Regions from separate parts of the Homo sapiens genome. Here regions 1, 3 and 4 are each linked to region 2. The links are contacts of gene promoters, found by promoter capture Hi-C in blood cells and fetal thymus (Javierre and others, 2016). All regions are on one chromosome and are shown on one strand. Each heading gives the region's core, a stretch centred on a gene start or on the middle of the fragment in contact. The rest is flanking DNA. Distances are from core to core; before and after follow the strand shown. Region 1 overlaps FBXL19 (F-box and leucine rich repeat protein 19). Region 2 holds the start of KAT8 (lysine acetyltransferase 8). Region 3 overlaps ITGAM (integrin subunit alpha M). Region 4 has its middle 20 kb from the start of ITGAX.

What was found. The method cuts DNA at HindIII sites, captures the fragments that hold promoters and counts their contacts. A CHiCAGO score of 5 or more calls a contact.
Region 1: a contact is called between a fragment that was not itself captured here and the fragment with the promoter of KAT8 in region 2, in 1 of 17 cell types (naive B cells). The highest score is 5.2, in naive B cells.
Region 3: a contact is called between a fragment that was not itself captured here and the fragment with the promoter of KAT8 in region 2, in 1 of 17 cell types (monocytes). The highest score is 5.8, in monocytes.
Region 4: a contact is called between a fragment that was not itself captured here and the fragment with the promoter of KAT8 in region 2, in 2 of 17 cell types (monocytes and naive B cells). The highest score is 11.0, in monocytes.

Annotation. Positions count from the first base shown.
Region 1 is chr16:30,938,733-30,942,184 of GRCh38, reverse strand. FBXL19 (F-box and leucine rich repeat protein 19) reads right to left here. Exons shown (of 11, transcript NM_001382779.1): 8 at 1-69. Among named protein-coding and RNA genes, the nearest start is that of ORAI3, 8.6 kb to the left of the region's middle. RefSeq lists a silencer at 46-175. The HindIII fragment of the contact is 714 bases long and covers 1,036-1,749 here.
Region 2 is chr16:31,116,288-31,119,405 of GRCh38, reverse strand. KAT8 (lysine acetyltransferase 8) reads right to left here and starts at 1,742. Exons shown (of 11, transcript NM_032188.3): 1 at 1,514-1,742. The coding sequence starts at 1,724. It also overlaps a transcript of BCKDK not described here. RefSeq lists an enhancer at 1,159-1,278 and silencers at 1,449-1,798, 1,698-1,924. The HindIII fragment of the contact is 10,033 bases long and covers 1-3,118 here.
Region 3 is chr16:31,293,983-31,297,404 of GRCh38, reverse strand. All of the region lies in intron 12 of ITGAM (integrin subunit alpha M), which reads right to left. Among named protein-coding and RNA genes, the nearest start is that of ITGAM, 36 kb to the right of the region's middle. The HindIII fragment of the contact is 384 bases long and covers 1,594-1,977 here.
Region 4 is chr16:31,333,698-31,337,097 of GRCh38, reverse strand. No RefSeq gene overlaps it. Among named protein-coding and RNA genes, the nearest start is that of ITGAX, 20 kb to the left of the region's middle. The HindIII fragment of the contact is 1,483 bases long and covers 1,355-2,837 here.

The DNA of each region.
Region 1 (3,452 bases), core at 143-2,642, 180 kb after region 2:
AGCATGGGCGGGGTCAGTGACTTCCGCCGGCTCAGGTCCATTCGAGGCCACAGACGCTTGTCATAGCACCTGGCGGCCATAGGGGGGAGACAGAGACCTCAGCCCTCAGCTCTCAGCAGCCCACAGTTCCCAGGCTCCCCAGCTCCAAGGGTGCACCCCAGCTCTCTTCTGGCCACACAGACAACAGGGTAGCAAGAAGCACCTGACCTCAGCCAAGAGCACTGGGATTGGAACCCAACTCCATCACTAACTGGAAATGAGACCCTGGGCAAGTCTGTTCCTCTCCCTGAGCCTCAGAAGCCTCGTTTATGATTGAAGGCAATAGCCCCCCCACTCTGCCTGCCCACAGGGCAGCTGTCAGGTCACATGGGCTCATCCCAGCTGTGGGCCTCCCAGCATAGAAAGTGTGCTGCCCAACACATACACAAATGCCACGCATGCTGCCTGATGTCATGCCAAGGGGACTGGTGTTATCCAGTCGTCTCCAGCCACCCTTGGGCTTCTTGATTCCTGACTGAGTTCTGGTGCTCATGGGTCCTTGCCTCCTTTACTCATCTCTGCTTCTGATCCACACCTGTCCCATCTTGACAGCCAGCTGCCCGCAGCTGGACTTACAGCCCTAATATCTTCCCTATTACATTACTGTGTTCCTCCAACTACAATGTAAATTCCACAAGGGCAGATTTGCGTTTTCCACTTTTTGAAAAAAAATTTTTTTTGAGACAGGGTCTCACTCTGTAACCCAGGCTGGACTCAGGCTCACCGCAGCCTCAACCTACTGGGCTCAAGCAATCCTCCCACCTCAGCCTCCTGAGTAGCTGGGACCACAGGCACATGTCACCACGCCTGGCTAATTTTTAAACAATTTTTTTGTAGAGACAGGGTCTCACTATGTTGCCTAGGCTGGTCTTGATCTCCTGGCCTCAAGCGATCCTCCTGCCTTGGCCTCCCAAAACACTGGGATTACAGGCATGAGCTACTGCACCCAGCTGCCCATTTGTAATGAATGAATCAAGCTAGTAACTACTTAAAGCTTCCACTGACCACTCTCCCCCACCTCCTCATCTACAGCATTTCATTTATTCACTCTGATTATAGAAAGCGTTATAGGTCCCAAGTATTGAAGCTACAAAGATGAACGAGTCCTAAGCAACATTAAACAGGTTTCCTAACCCGAGCACTCCACAGGCCTCAACAGACTATCTAACATGCAGTGGGCTGGGTGCAGTGGCTCACACCTGTAATCCCAGCACTTTGGGAGGCCGAGGTGGGTGGATCATGAGGTCAGGAATTCGAGAACAGCCTGGCTGTTCTACTAGTGAAACCCTGTCTCTACTAAAAGTACAAAAAATTAGCTGGGCATGGTGGCGGGCGCCTGTAATCCTAGCTACTCGGGAGGCTGAGGCAGGAGAATTACTTGAACCCGGGAGGCGGAGATTGCAGCGAGCCGAGATCGCACCACTGCACACCAGCTGGGGCAACAGTGAGAGACTCCATCTCAAAAACAAACAAACAAACAAACAAACAAAAAACATGCAGTGAACTGGAGAAGGGCCTCTCAAACGTACTTCCCCAGGAATCCTTCCCCACCTCTCCCAAGGTAATCTAGTAACATTTTGTAGTACACTGAAGTTCCTTTGGACTCAGTTTGAGAACTCTCTTCTCTGAGTTCAGTAGTTCTCAAAGGCATGTCCAGAAATGCCTCTGAGACTCAATAGACTGTGTCAGAAGCAGCAGGCCCAGGAAGCTTTTTTTTTTTTTTCTTGAGACAGTGTCTTGCTTAGTCACCCAGGCTGGGGTGCAGTACTGCGATCACAGCTCACTGCAACCTTAAACTCCTGGGCTCAAGCCATCCTCCTACCTCAGCCTCCTGAGTAGCTGGGACTACAGGCACATGCCACCACACCTGACTTTTTTTTTTTTTTTGAGACAGAGTTTCGCTCTTGTTGCCCAGGCTGGAGTGCAATGGTGTGATCTTGGCTCACTGAAACCACCATCTCCCAAGTTCAAGCGATTCTCCCGCCTCAGCCTCCAGAGTAGCTGGGATTACAGGCATGCGCCACCACGCCCGGCTAATTTTTTGTATTTTTAGTAGAGATAGGGTTTCTCCATGTTGGCCAGGCTGGTCTCGAAATCCTGACCTCAGGTGATCTGCCCACTTTGGCCTCCCATAGTGCTGGGATTACAGGCGTGAGCCACTGTGCCTGGCCTATTTTTTTATTTTTAGTAGAGACAAGGTTGTCCAGGCTGGTTTTGAACTCCTGAGCTCAAGCGATCCTTCCCTTGGCCTCCCAAGGGAAGCTTTCTCTTGCCTCCCTCCCTGCCCTCATGACTCTGAAAGGCTTTTCCTTGTAGAAGCCCTGGGCTGGGGCAGTGATTCCCAAGCTCCAGTATTTGCTGTTCACTTATCTGCGTAACATGATTTATCTTTGAATCATCTCCTCTTTGCACTTAAAACCAGTATTGTTGCCGGGCGCGGTGGCTCATGCGTGTAATCCCAGCACTTTGGGAGGCCGAGGTGGGTGGATCACTAGGTCAGGAGATCAAGACCATCCAGGCTAACACAGTGAAACCCCGTCTCTACTAAAAAAAAAATACAAAAAATTAGCTGGGCGTGGTGGAGGGCGCCTGTAGTCCCAGATACTCGGGAGGCTGAGGCAGGAGAATGGCGTGAATCTGGGAGGTGGAGCTTGCAGTGAGCCGAGATCGTGCCACTGCACTCCAGCCTGGGCGACAGAGCGAGACTCCGTCTCAAAAAAAAAACAAAAAAAAAAACCCCAGTATTGTTTCACATAAATATGTTAATCTTAAAAATAAACACAAAAGTCCAAGTGTGGTGTAATCCCAGCACTTTGGGAGGCCAAGGTGGACAGATCACGAGGTCAGGAGATTGAGACCATCCTGGCTAACACGGTGAAACCCCATCTCTACTAAAAATACAAAAAATTAGCCGGGCGTGGTGGCGGGCACCTGTAGTCCCAGCTACTTGGGAGGCTAAGGCAGGAGAATGGCATGAACCTGGGAGGCGGAGCTTGCAGTAAGCCGAGATTGCGCCACTGCACTCCAGCCTGGGTGACAGAGCGAGACTCTGTCTCAAAAATAAATAAATAAATAAATAAAACACAAAAAAGACCAGAGTTATTAAATCCTAGCCAGGTGTTGCTGTGGCTTTAGGCTACTACCTGAAGACTACTTTTGTTAAACAGGGAGATAAGTATCAGAGAAGTGTTAGAAAAAGCACCCAATAGTGGCCAGGCGCAGTGGCTCACGCCTGTAATCCCAGCACTTTGGGAGGCCGAGGCAGGCGGATCACGAGATCAGGAGATGGAGACCATCCTGGCTAATACGGTGAAACCTCGTATCTGCTAAAAATACAAAAGATTAGCCGGGCGTGGTGGCAGGCGCCTGTAGTCCCAGCTACTCAGGAGGCTGAGGCAGGAGAATGGCGTGAA
Region 2 (3,118 bases), core at 493-2,992:
GAGGCCGAGGTGGGTGAATCACGAGGTTAAGAGGTCAAAACCATCCTGGCCAACATGGTGAAACTTCGTCTCTACTAAAAATACAAAAATTAGCTGGGTGTGGTGGCGCACAACTGTAGTCCCAGCTACTCAGGAGGTTGAGGCAGGAGAATCGCTTGAATCCGGGAGGCAGAGATCGCAGTGAGCCAAGATGGCGCCACTGCACTCCAGCCTGGCAACAGAGAGCGATTCCATCTCAAACAAACAAACAAAAAAAAATACACAAAATTCCAGCTCCCTACTTCCTAGCTATGTGTAACTGAGCAAGTTATTCCATCTTTCTGAGCCTCAGTCTCTTCATCTGTGAAAAGGGATAACAGCTGGGCACAGTGGCTCATGCCAGTAATCCCAACACTCTGAGAGGGTGAGGTGGGAGGATCACTTGAGCCTAGAAGGTCTAGGCTTCAGTGAGCTGTCATCGTGCCACGGCAATCCCACCTGGGTGACAGAGCGAGATCCTGTCTCAAAAAAAAAAAAAAAAAAAAAGACAAAAGGGATAATAGTACCAACCTTAGAAGGTGAATTAATGCCTCCAAAATTTTTAGCAGCGCACCTGACAATTAGCAGAGCATTCAATAAATGAGTAAGGCAACCACTACGTGTCTGGCCCTATGCTGTGTTGTTGCCGGGTACAGAGGACACAGTGATGAATCACAAGAAGTGCTGCCCTCCAGAAGTTCCCAGTATGATGGAGGAAGACAGAGAGAGAAAATTACAACATAATGTTACAAAAACTATGACTGAGGTAGGAAAAAAATGTTGCAGGAACATAGAGAAGGGAACCACTCACTTTGCCTGAAGGGGAATCAAGGATGACATCACAAAGGATATGAAGCTAAGAGGATGAGTAGGAGCTAGGCAGGCAAACAAGGAGAAAGGGAAGAAAAAGCATTCCAAGCAAAGGGCACAGGTGGTAAAGGGCGTGTGGTCTTCAGAGGGCACAGTGTGTTCTGGCCTGGCAATGCCCTTTCCTAGTGTTGGCTAGAAACTGGAGAGGTCACAAAAATGAATGCCACCCTAAGGAGTTTGGGGTTAATTTTGAAAATGAGAGAAGGCAGCAGAACTTTAGGAAAGGGAAGCCTGTTGTTTCTGGAAGGTCTTCTCTCTGCGGATGGCTGCCAGGGACAAATGGAAAAAGAAGACGCAGAGACAAGAGAGGGTGAGGAAGCAGCGTTAGCAAGAAAAAGGAATGAAGCCTAAGACTGGGCAAGGAAGTGGAATGGGAACAATCCTGGTGAAGGCCTGAGCGGTGGGTTTGTAGGCGTCGCTCGGCATAATTCAAGGTCAACAGCCTCCCACAACCCGGCTGGTTTCTCAGCGCCCGGAACGCGGCGTTCTTTCCTCAAGCCCCGCCCCTCCTCCTCTCCACTCCCAGCCCCCGGATCTTGGCCTCACTGACAGCCTGTCCTCAGGCCCCGCCCCACCCCCTGGCCCTGAGCTCCGCCCCGCCCCCAGCCCTGGGCCCCGCCCTCACGCCAGGTGCTATCCGGTCGCCGGCACAGGTACGTTTCTCCGATCTCCACCGTGACTTCCGGCTCGCCGCGCGCCGGGGTCGGCGGAGAGACGCGGCCCGGGGATGGGGCGGTCCCCTCAGCGGCCGCATTCTCCCCGGGCCCGGGCTCGCCCTCCCCCGCGACCCCTGAAGTCCCCGCCGCAACCGCCGCAGCAGCTCCCTGTGCCGCCATCGCGGGAAGGGAAGTGACGCCAGAATCGGACGCCACGCAGTTCTTTTGGCTCCGGGTCAGCAGTGCGTGGGGCGGGCTCCTCAAGGTTTGAGGGCGGGGTCTGTGATGTAGCAGGAGCCGATTGGCTTCTGTGGCCGTCCCCGCGGCCCCGCGAGTTGGATGTTGAGTGTGCGGCAGTCTTGGAGCTCCTGGTTTTCCGTGCGGACCTGTGGCTGCAGCCTATGGGTGAGGAGAGGAGACAGACTTACCTCATGCGATGACTCAACTCAACCTTTTTTTAATTTATTTATTTATTTATTTATTTATTTATTTTGAGACGGAATCATGCTCTGTCGCCCAGGCTGGAGTGCAGAGGCGCGATCTCGGCTCACTGCAACCTCCGCCTCCGGGTTCAAGCGATTCCTCTGCCTCAGCCTCCCGGGTAGCTGGGACTGCAGGCGCGCGCCACCACGCCCATCTAATTTTTGTATTTTTAGTAGAGACGGGGTTTCACCATGTTGTCCAGGATAGTCTTGATCTCTTGACCTCGTGATCTGCCAGCCTCAACCTCCCAAAGTGCTGGGATTATAGGCGTGAGCCACCGTGCCCGGCCAGCTGAACCTTTTTAAAGGCCCTGGTACCTGCGGAAGCCAAGATGTGCCAATTTTCAGCGGGCGCTGCCCCCACTTTAACAGGGCAGAGCCAGAGCGGCCGCCCTGGTGGCCTGGAGCCGCACACTCGCGCTGGCCTAATGTCGCTCCCCGCCCCCCCCCCTTTTTTTTTTTTGAGATGGAGTCTCGCTCTGTCGCCCAGGCTGGAGTGCAGTGACGCGATCTCGGCTCACTGCAGCCTCCGCCTCCCGGGTTCAAGCGATTCTCCTGCCTCAGCCTCCTGAATAGCTGGGATTACAATCGCGCGCCACCACGCCCGGCTATTTTTTGTATTTTTAGTAGAGAGAGGGCTTCACCCTGTTGGCCAGGCTGGTCTCGAACTCCTGACCTCAGGTGATCCGCCCGCCTCGGCCTCCCAAAGTGCTAGGGTTACAGGCGTGAGCCACCGTGCCCAGCCAGTGCCCCATTTTTGAAGGTTGAAGAGACTACTTCCCCTATTTGGGATACAGTTGGTGCGGGGAAAGCAGAACGGGTGTGTCCAGGGACAGGCCATAATTCACCCTCACAGGATAAAGTCTAAAGAAAGGACGAGTTGGGCGGGGCGTGGTGGCTCACGCCTGTAATCTCAGCACTTTGAGAGGCCGAGGCGGGCGGAGATCGAGACCATCCTGGCTAACACCGTGAAACTCCGTCTCTACTAAAAATACAAAATTTAGCCGGGCGTGGTGGCACGCACCTGTAGTCCCAGCTACTCGGGAGGCTGAGGCAGGAGAATCGCTTGAACCCGGGAGGCGGAGGTTGCAG
Region 3 (3,422 bases), core at 536-3,035, 180 kb before region 2:
GATGTGATCTTCTATATGGTTCATGATAAATTATCACTTGAATGTGCTGCCAGCTAAAGGAACCTATATAATAAGCCTGGCAGAATGGTTTCTGCCTGTAATCCCAGCTCCTCGGGGGGCTGAAGTGGGAGGATCCCTTGAGCCAAGGAGTTTAAGGCTGCAGTGAGCTTTGTCACCACTGCACTCCAGCTTGGGCAACAGAGCAAGATCCCAATCTCTAAGTGTATATATATATTTTTTAATAATTTAAAAGATAAAAAATAAGCCTATAGTAGAGTCAATGGGCAGTGAGTGAGGATTTACTCCAGGTGGTATTCCTGGGAGATTATTAAGGCAGCAAAGAAGAATTTGGGTTGGAAAATACATAGAAAATTCTAGAAGAGAAGACAGAATACCACCCTTTCAATATATTGGGAATCTTTAGGGAGGTAAAAAGTCAAAGTTGGCACTCTGACTAATAAGGCTAATAACTGGCTTAGATTAAAAATAACTATTTGTTATTTGAATATTTGTTGTGATATTAAGAAATATCTTCAAGGTCAATATGTAGAATTCATCCATAAAATTCACCTATTTAATCATACATTCATTCATTCATTTATTCATTCATTCAACAAACAAGTGTTTCTTATTGCTAAGCACACAGCTGGGTAATAGAGATACAGTGCCTTCCAGGGCCCTCAGTGCAGCCAGGTGGAGGAGAGGAGAGTAATCAATGGATTAACAGGGAGATGTGTATAGCAATTTCAAACTGGGACAAGTTCTAGAAAGGGAATGTGCAGGGGACATCATGCCACGGCTCTGCAACGTGATTTCTGCCTCATACACCATTGAGGGAAGACTCATTGATAACTGAATACTTTATCCTAAAGTCAACAGAATTTGATTGTTTTTTAGGTCAGATTTATTGGGGAAGAGTTTACATACAATAAAATTCAGCCTTTTAGTACATAGTTTTATGAGTTTTGACAAACATATAAAGTCATATAACCGGCCAGATGCAGTGGCTCATGCCTGTAATCCCAGCATTTTGGGAGGCCAGGGCGTGTGGATCACCTGAGGTCAGGAGTTCGAGACCAACCTGGAAATCATGGTGAAACCCCATCTCTACTAAAAATACAAAAAAAAAAAAATTAGCAGGGCATGGTGGCGGGCGCCTATAGTCCCAGCTACTCAAGAGGCTGAGGCAGGAGAATGGCGTGAACCTGGGAGGTGGAGCTTGCAGTGAGCCGAGATAACGCCACTGCACTCCAGCCTGGGCAACACAGAGAGACTCTGTTAAAAAAAAAAAAAAAAAAGATAAAAAGATAATAACCATGATCAAGTGTGATTTATCCCTGGGATGCGAGATGCAAGGATGATTCCACATATGCAAATCAATTAATGTGGCATATCACATTAACAGAATGAAGGACTAAAACCACATGATCATCTCAATATACGCAAAAAAAAGCATTTGACAAAATTCAACATTCTTTTATAATAAAAACTCTCAATAAATTCGCTACAGAAGGAATGTACCTCAATATGATAAAGGCCATATACGACAAGCCCACAACAAACATCATACTCAATGGTGAAAAATTGAAAGCTTTACCACTAAAATGAGGAAAAAGGCAAGAATGCTCACTCTCACTACTTCTATGTAACATAGTACTGGAAGTCCTGGTCACAGCAATTAGGCAAGAAAAATAAATGAAAGAGACCCAAATCAGATATAAAAAAGGAAATTTGTCTCTGTTTACACTTAAAATGATATATATATAAAAACATATATATATAAATATATTTTTAAAAAACCCTAAAAACTCCACCAAAAAAGAACTACTAGAACTAATGAATAAATTCAGTAAAGTTACAGGTTACAAAATCAATGTGAAAAATCAATAGTGCTTCTATACACTAACAATGAACTATCTGAAAAAGAAATCAAGAAACAATCTCATTTACAATAGCATCAAAAAAAATACCTAAGCTTAAATTTAACCAGAGAGGTGAAAAACATGTACACTAAAACTATAAAACATTGATTAAGGAAGTTAAACAAGACAAAAATAAATGGAAAGATATCCTATGTTCATGGACTGGAGTATTAATGCAATCTTCTGATTCAGTACAATCCTTATCAAAATCCCAATGGCATTTTTTTACAAAAATAGAAAAAAAACTAAAATTTATGTAGAACCACAGAAGACCCTAAATAGCCAAAGCAATCCTCAAGAAAAAAAATACTGGAGGCATCATAATTCCTGATCTCAAAACATACTGTGTCAAGAAAGCTCTAGTAAGCATAACAGCAAGGTGGTGGCATAAAAACAGACACATCAACCAATGGAACAGAACAGGGAGGCTAGAAATAAAACTATGCATTTATGGTCAATTGATCTTCAATAAAGGTGCCAAGAATATGCAAAGGAGAAAGGACATTCTCTTCAACAAATGGTGTGGGGAGAACTGGATATTCATATTCAAAAGGATTAAATTAGACCTTTATCCCAAACCATATACAAAATCAACTCAAAATGGATTAAAGACTTAAACACAAGACCTGAAACTGTAAAACTACTAGAAGAAAACAAAGGGAAAAGCTTCTTGACAATCAAGCTTCTGAGAAATGATTTTTTGGATATGACCCCAAAAGCACAGGCAACAAAAGCAAACCAGACAAATGGGGTGGCATCAAACTAAAAAGTGTCAGCTTAACAAAAAAAGAAAATTTCAGGCCAATATTCTTGATGAACACTAATGCAAAAATCCTCAACACACTACCTGCAAACCAAATCCAGCAGCACATCAAAAATCTAATCCACCATGATCAGGTAGGCTTCATTCCCGGGGTGCAAAGTTGGTTCAACATATGCAAATCAATAAATATGATTCATCACATAAACAGAACTAAAGACAAAAACCACATGATTATCTCAATAGATGAAGAGAAGGCTTTAATAAAAGTCAACACCCCTTTATGTTAAAAATTCTCAATAAACTAGGTATTGAAGGAACATACCTCAAAATAATAAGAGCCATCTACAACAAACCCACAGCCAACATCATACTTGATGGGCAAAAGCATTCCCCTTGAAAGCCAGCACAAAACAAGGATGCCTTTGCTCACTAGTCCTATTCAACATATTATTGGAAGTTCTAGCCAGAGCAATCAGGCAAAAGAAAGAAAAAAGGGCATACAAATAGGAAGAAAGGAAGTAAAAAAGTCAAACTATCCCTGTTTGCAGACAACATGATTCTATATTTAGAAAACCCCATAGTCTTGGCCTAGGAGCTCCTTCAGCTGATAAATAACTTCAACAAAGTTTCAGGATACGAAATCAATGTACAAAAATCACTAGCACTCCTATACACCAACAAGAGCTGGGAGCCAAATCAGGAAGGCAATCCTATTCACGATTGCCACAAAAAGAATA
Region 4 (3,400 bases), core at 847-3,346, 220 kb before region 2:
GTGGCACATGCCTGTAGTTCCACCTACTCGGGAGGCTGATGTGGGAGATCACTTGAGCCCAGGAGCTCAAGGTTGCAGTGAGCTGTGATCACGCCACTGCACTCCAGCTTTGGCAGCAGAGCGAGACACTGTCTGAAAAAAGAAAAAGAAGAATAAGAAGAAGACGACTTCGGCCTTTACCACAATTGGGAGAACAGAATCTTTGGGAAGGTGGTGATATCAATTAACAAAACAGATAAACTGCTGTATCGGAGGCTCTGAGTGATAGTGTTTTCAACAAGACCAGTGTTCTCATCTCTCTCCTGTAATGGCATGAGAATATGGAGTCCAGGGCTGACATGGTGCCTCCGCAGAGGCGGGACCCAGCCTCCTCTGTTCCACTCTTGCATTCTTCGATGTCAAACTCATCTTCAGGGTCCAAAATTGTGCACCGTGATGCTGACACTCCAGCCAGCGGGAAGGTGGTGAAAAGAAACGACACTTCTTCCCTCAAAGGACCTGGCTCCGAAGTTGCTCGCTTCACTGCTGCTCACATCCCATCAGCCAGAACCTCGCCAGGCAGCCACACCAGCTGCACAGGAGGTGGGGAGACGAACCCTATAACTAAGGGGCTATACGCAATATCCATTGCAGCGTAACAAACCACCACGCAGGACTGAGACATCAGTAATTGATTATTTCTCACAGTTGCATGAGGTGACAATCCAGGCAGTTCTGTGGGACTCTCCAGTGGCTGCAGGTGTTGGACAGCTGGATGGAAGGATCACAGCAGCCTCATGCATGCACAGTGGCAGTGGCCTCCGCTGTCTCCTCCATGAGTCCACTCTTTCTCCAGTGGGCCATATGGATCACGGCGTGGTGACCTCAGTGTTCCGAGGGGTGCAGGGCAGGATCTGCTGTGCTCCTAAAGGTCTAGGCTCCAGAACTCACACGACCACACTCCTACTGTATTCTATTAATCAAAGCAAACCACGGGACCAGCCCAGATTCAAAGAGGTAGACAGGCCGCACCATGTGATGTCAGGGACAGCAATGTCACACTGCAAGGGTGTAGGGCCGGGAAGCACCATTCACTGGGAGTCAGAATTGTAACCATCTCCCATGGTGGCCCAAATTAAGATTCTACTCTAAGTAGGAAAAGGAGAGTGGATACTGAAGGGATTCATTTATTCTGAAGTGAGAAATCCCCAAAAATAAAAGCAAGCAGACGTTCCTGGACTTGGCCACTTATCACCAGATTTATGGTCCTGTTTATTAGTCACTTTGTGGTCATGCTAGGGAAATCTGTCGCTTGAAATGATTGACTTTTCTAACCCATCATAAAGCTCCTATCTGGCTGAATTCAACACAAGCTTCTCATTTGAAGACGCGGAGGTGAACTCTGAGTTCACAGGACTTTAACTGCCCTGCAAAGACTGGCGGCTACAGGCACGGAGGCTGCAAGGACAGGCAACTACAGGTATGGAGGCTGCCAGGACAAGCAACTAGGTACGAAGGCTACAAGGACCAGCATGGAGGCTGCAAGGACAGGCGACTACAGACATGGAGGGTGAAAGGACAGGCGACTAAAGGTACAGAACTCTCTCTGTTCCCGGAGCAATTCAGGACTTCTGCAGATATTGAGGACTTTTATCTTTCAACATAAGGAAACACAGAAATTCTTAACAGACTTTATTTAAGTCAGGAGAGGAAATAGCAAAGAACCGTCTAAAGGTGACCGTGTTTTGTGTCACCCCCACAGATACAAAGGGCCATTGTCTCATTAGCCACCTTTTGAGGGCATCTCACTTCACTTTGAGTGAAATTGGAACTACTCACTCTGGCTTACAAAGCACTCATGCCCAAGCCCTGCCCACTCTCCCAGCCTCCCCTGCCCTCCCTTCTGCCTGGAGATCTTCTGGCCCTGCTTCAGTCAGGTGTCACCTCCCTTGGGGACCCTTCCTTCACCTCCCTAAGGAGTAAGCCCTCTCTCCTCCTGCCACATGTGAAACAAGTGTCCCTCTAAGCCATGATTTTCTTGTATTTCAATGAAGATCATGAAATTACCATTTTTTGGCTGGGCACAGTGACTCACACCTGTAATCCCAGCATTTCGGGAGGCCAAGGCAGATGGATCACCTGAGGTCAGGAGTTCAAGACCAGCCTGGCCAACATGGTGGAACCCCATCTCTACCAAAAATACAAAAAAAAAAAATTAGCCAGACATTGTGGTGCACGCCTGTAATCCCAGCTACTCAGGAGGCTGAGGCAAGATAATCACTTGAACCCGGGAGGGAGAGGTTGTAGTGAGCTGAGATCACACTACTGTACTCCAGTCTGGGCGACAGAACAAGACTCCATGAAAAAAAAGAAAGAAAGAAAGAAAGAAAGAAAGAAAGAAAGAAAGAAAGAAAGAAAGAAAGAAAGAAAGAAAGAAAGAAAGAAAGAAGGAAGGAAGGAAGGAAGGAAGGAAGGAAGGAAGGAAGGAAGGAAGGAAAGAAAGAAAGAAAAAAGAAAGGAAGGAAGGAAGGAAGGAAGGAGGAAGGAAGGAAGGAAGGAAGGAGGAAGGAAGGAAGGAAGGAAGGAAGGAAGGAAAGGAAGGAAGGAAGGAAGGGAAAGAAAGAAAGAAGGAGAAAGAAAGAAAGAAGGAGAAAGAAAGAGAGAGAGAAAGAAAAGAGAGAAAGAGAAAGAAAGAAAGAAAAGAAAGAAACATTTTTGTCCAAAAACATGTCATCAATTTCATATGCTTTAACCCAATATCATAACAGTTAAATAACAGCCACCCTCTCCCCACACTCCCTCATGCCTGTTCTGGGGCCATTCCTCTGAGGCTGTCAGGACAGTAAAAGAGAAAAGCTTTAGACCTAGGCAGAGCTGGGATTAACTCCTAGCTCCATTCCTTCCCAGCTGTATGACCTCAGGCAACTGGTATGATCTATCTAAGCCTAGGTTTCCTCATAAGTGAAATTCATGTAAATACCAAGGACTGGTGTGAGGATTAGAGAGGATGTATGTTCAGGCCAGGCTAGTGTTTACTGTGTTTGCAAAGTATGAGGGACAGGCACTGGGCATCCTCCCTCTGAGGAAGCAGCCACCAAAATGTCACCTGCACACACCTTGGCAGCAAGTGCTCCTGGTGCCCTGACCTGAACCAAAGGCACCGTGTCAGGGGCTGTGTTCACCTGTCAAACATCCAGCCAGCAGCACTGGTATCACTTTCTCTGGCCACTAGAGCCCACTCTCCTCACACTCAGGGCAGGCCAGAAGTGGTAGGAAATTAACACACTCTCCCCACCAAGAGCAGCCCTCATCCAATAGCTAAGTGGAATCGGTGTCTATGCGCTCCAGCCTTCTCCCCTGGGTGGGGTGATACTGAGGTGCGTGTTCTGCACTGCCTCCGAGAACTGCCCAGTGGGGTGAA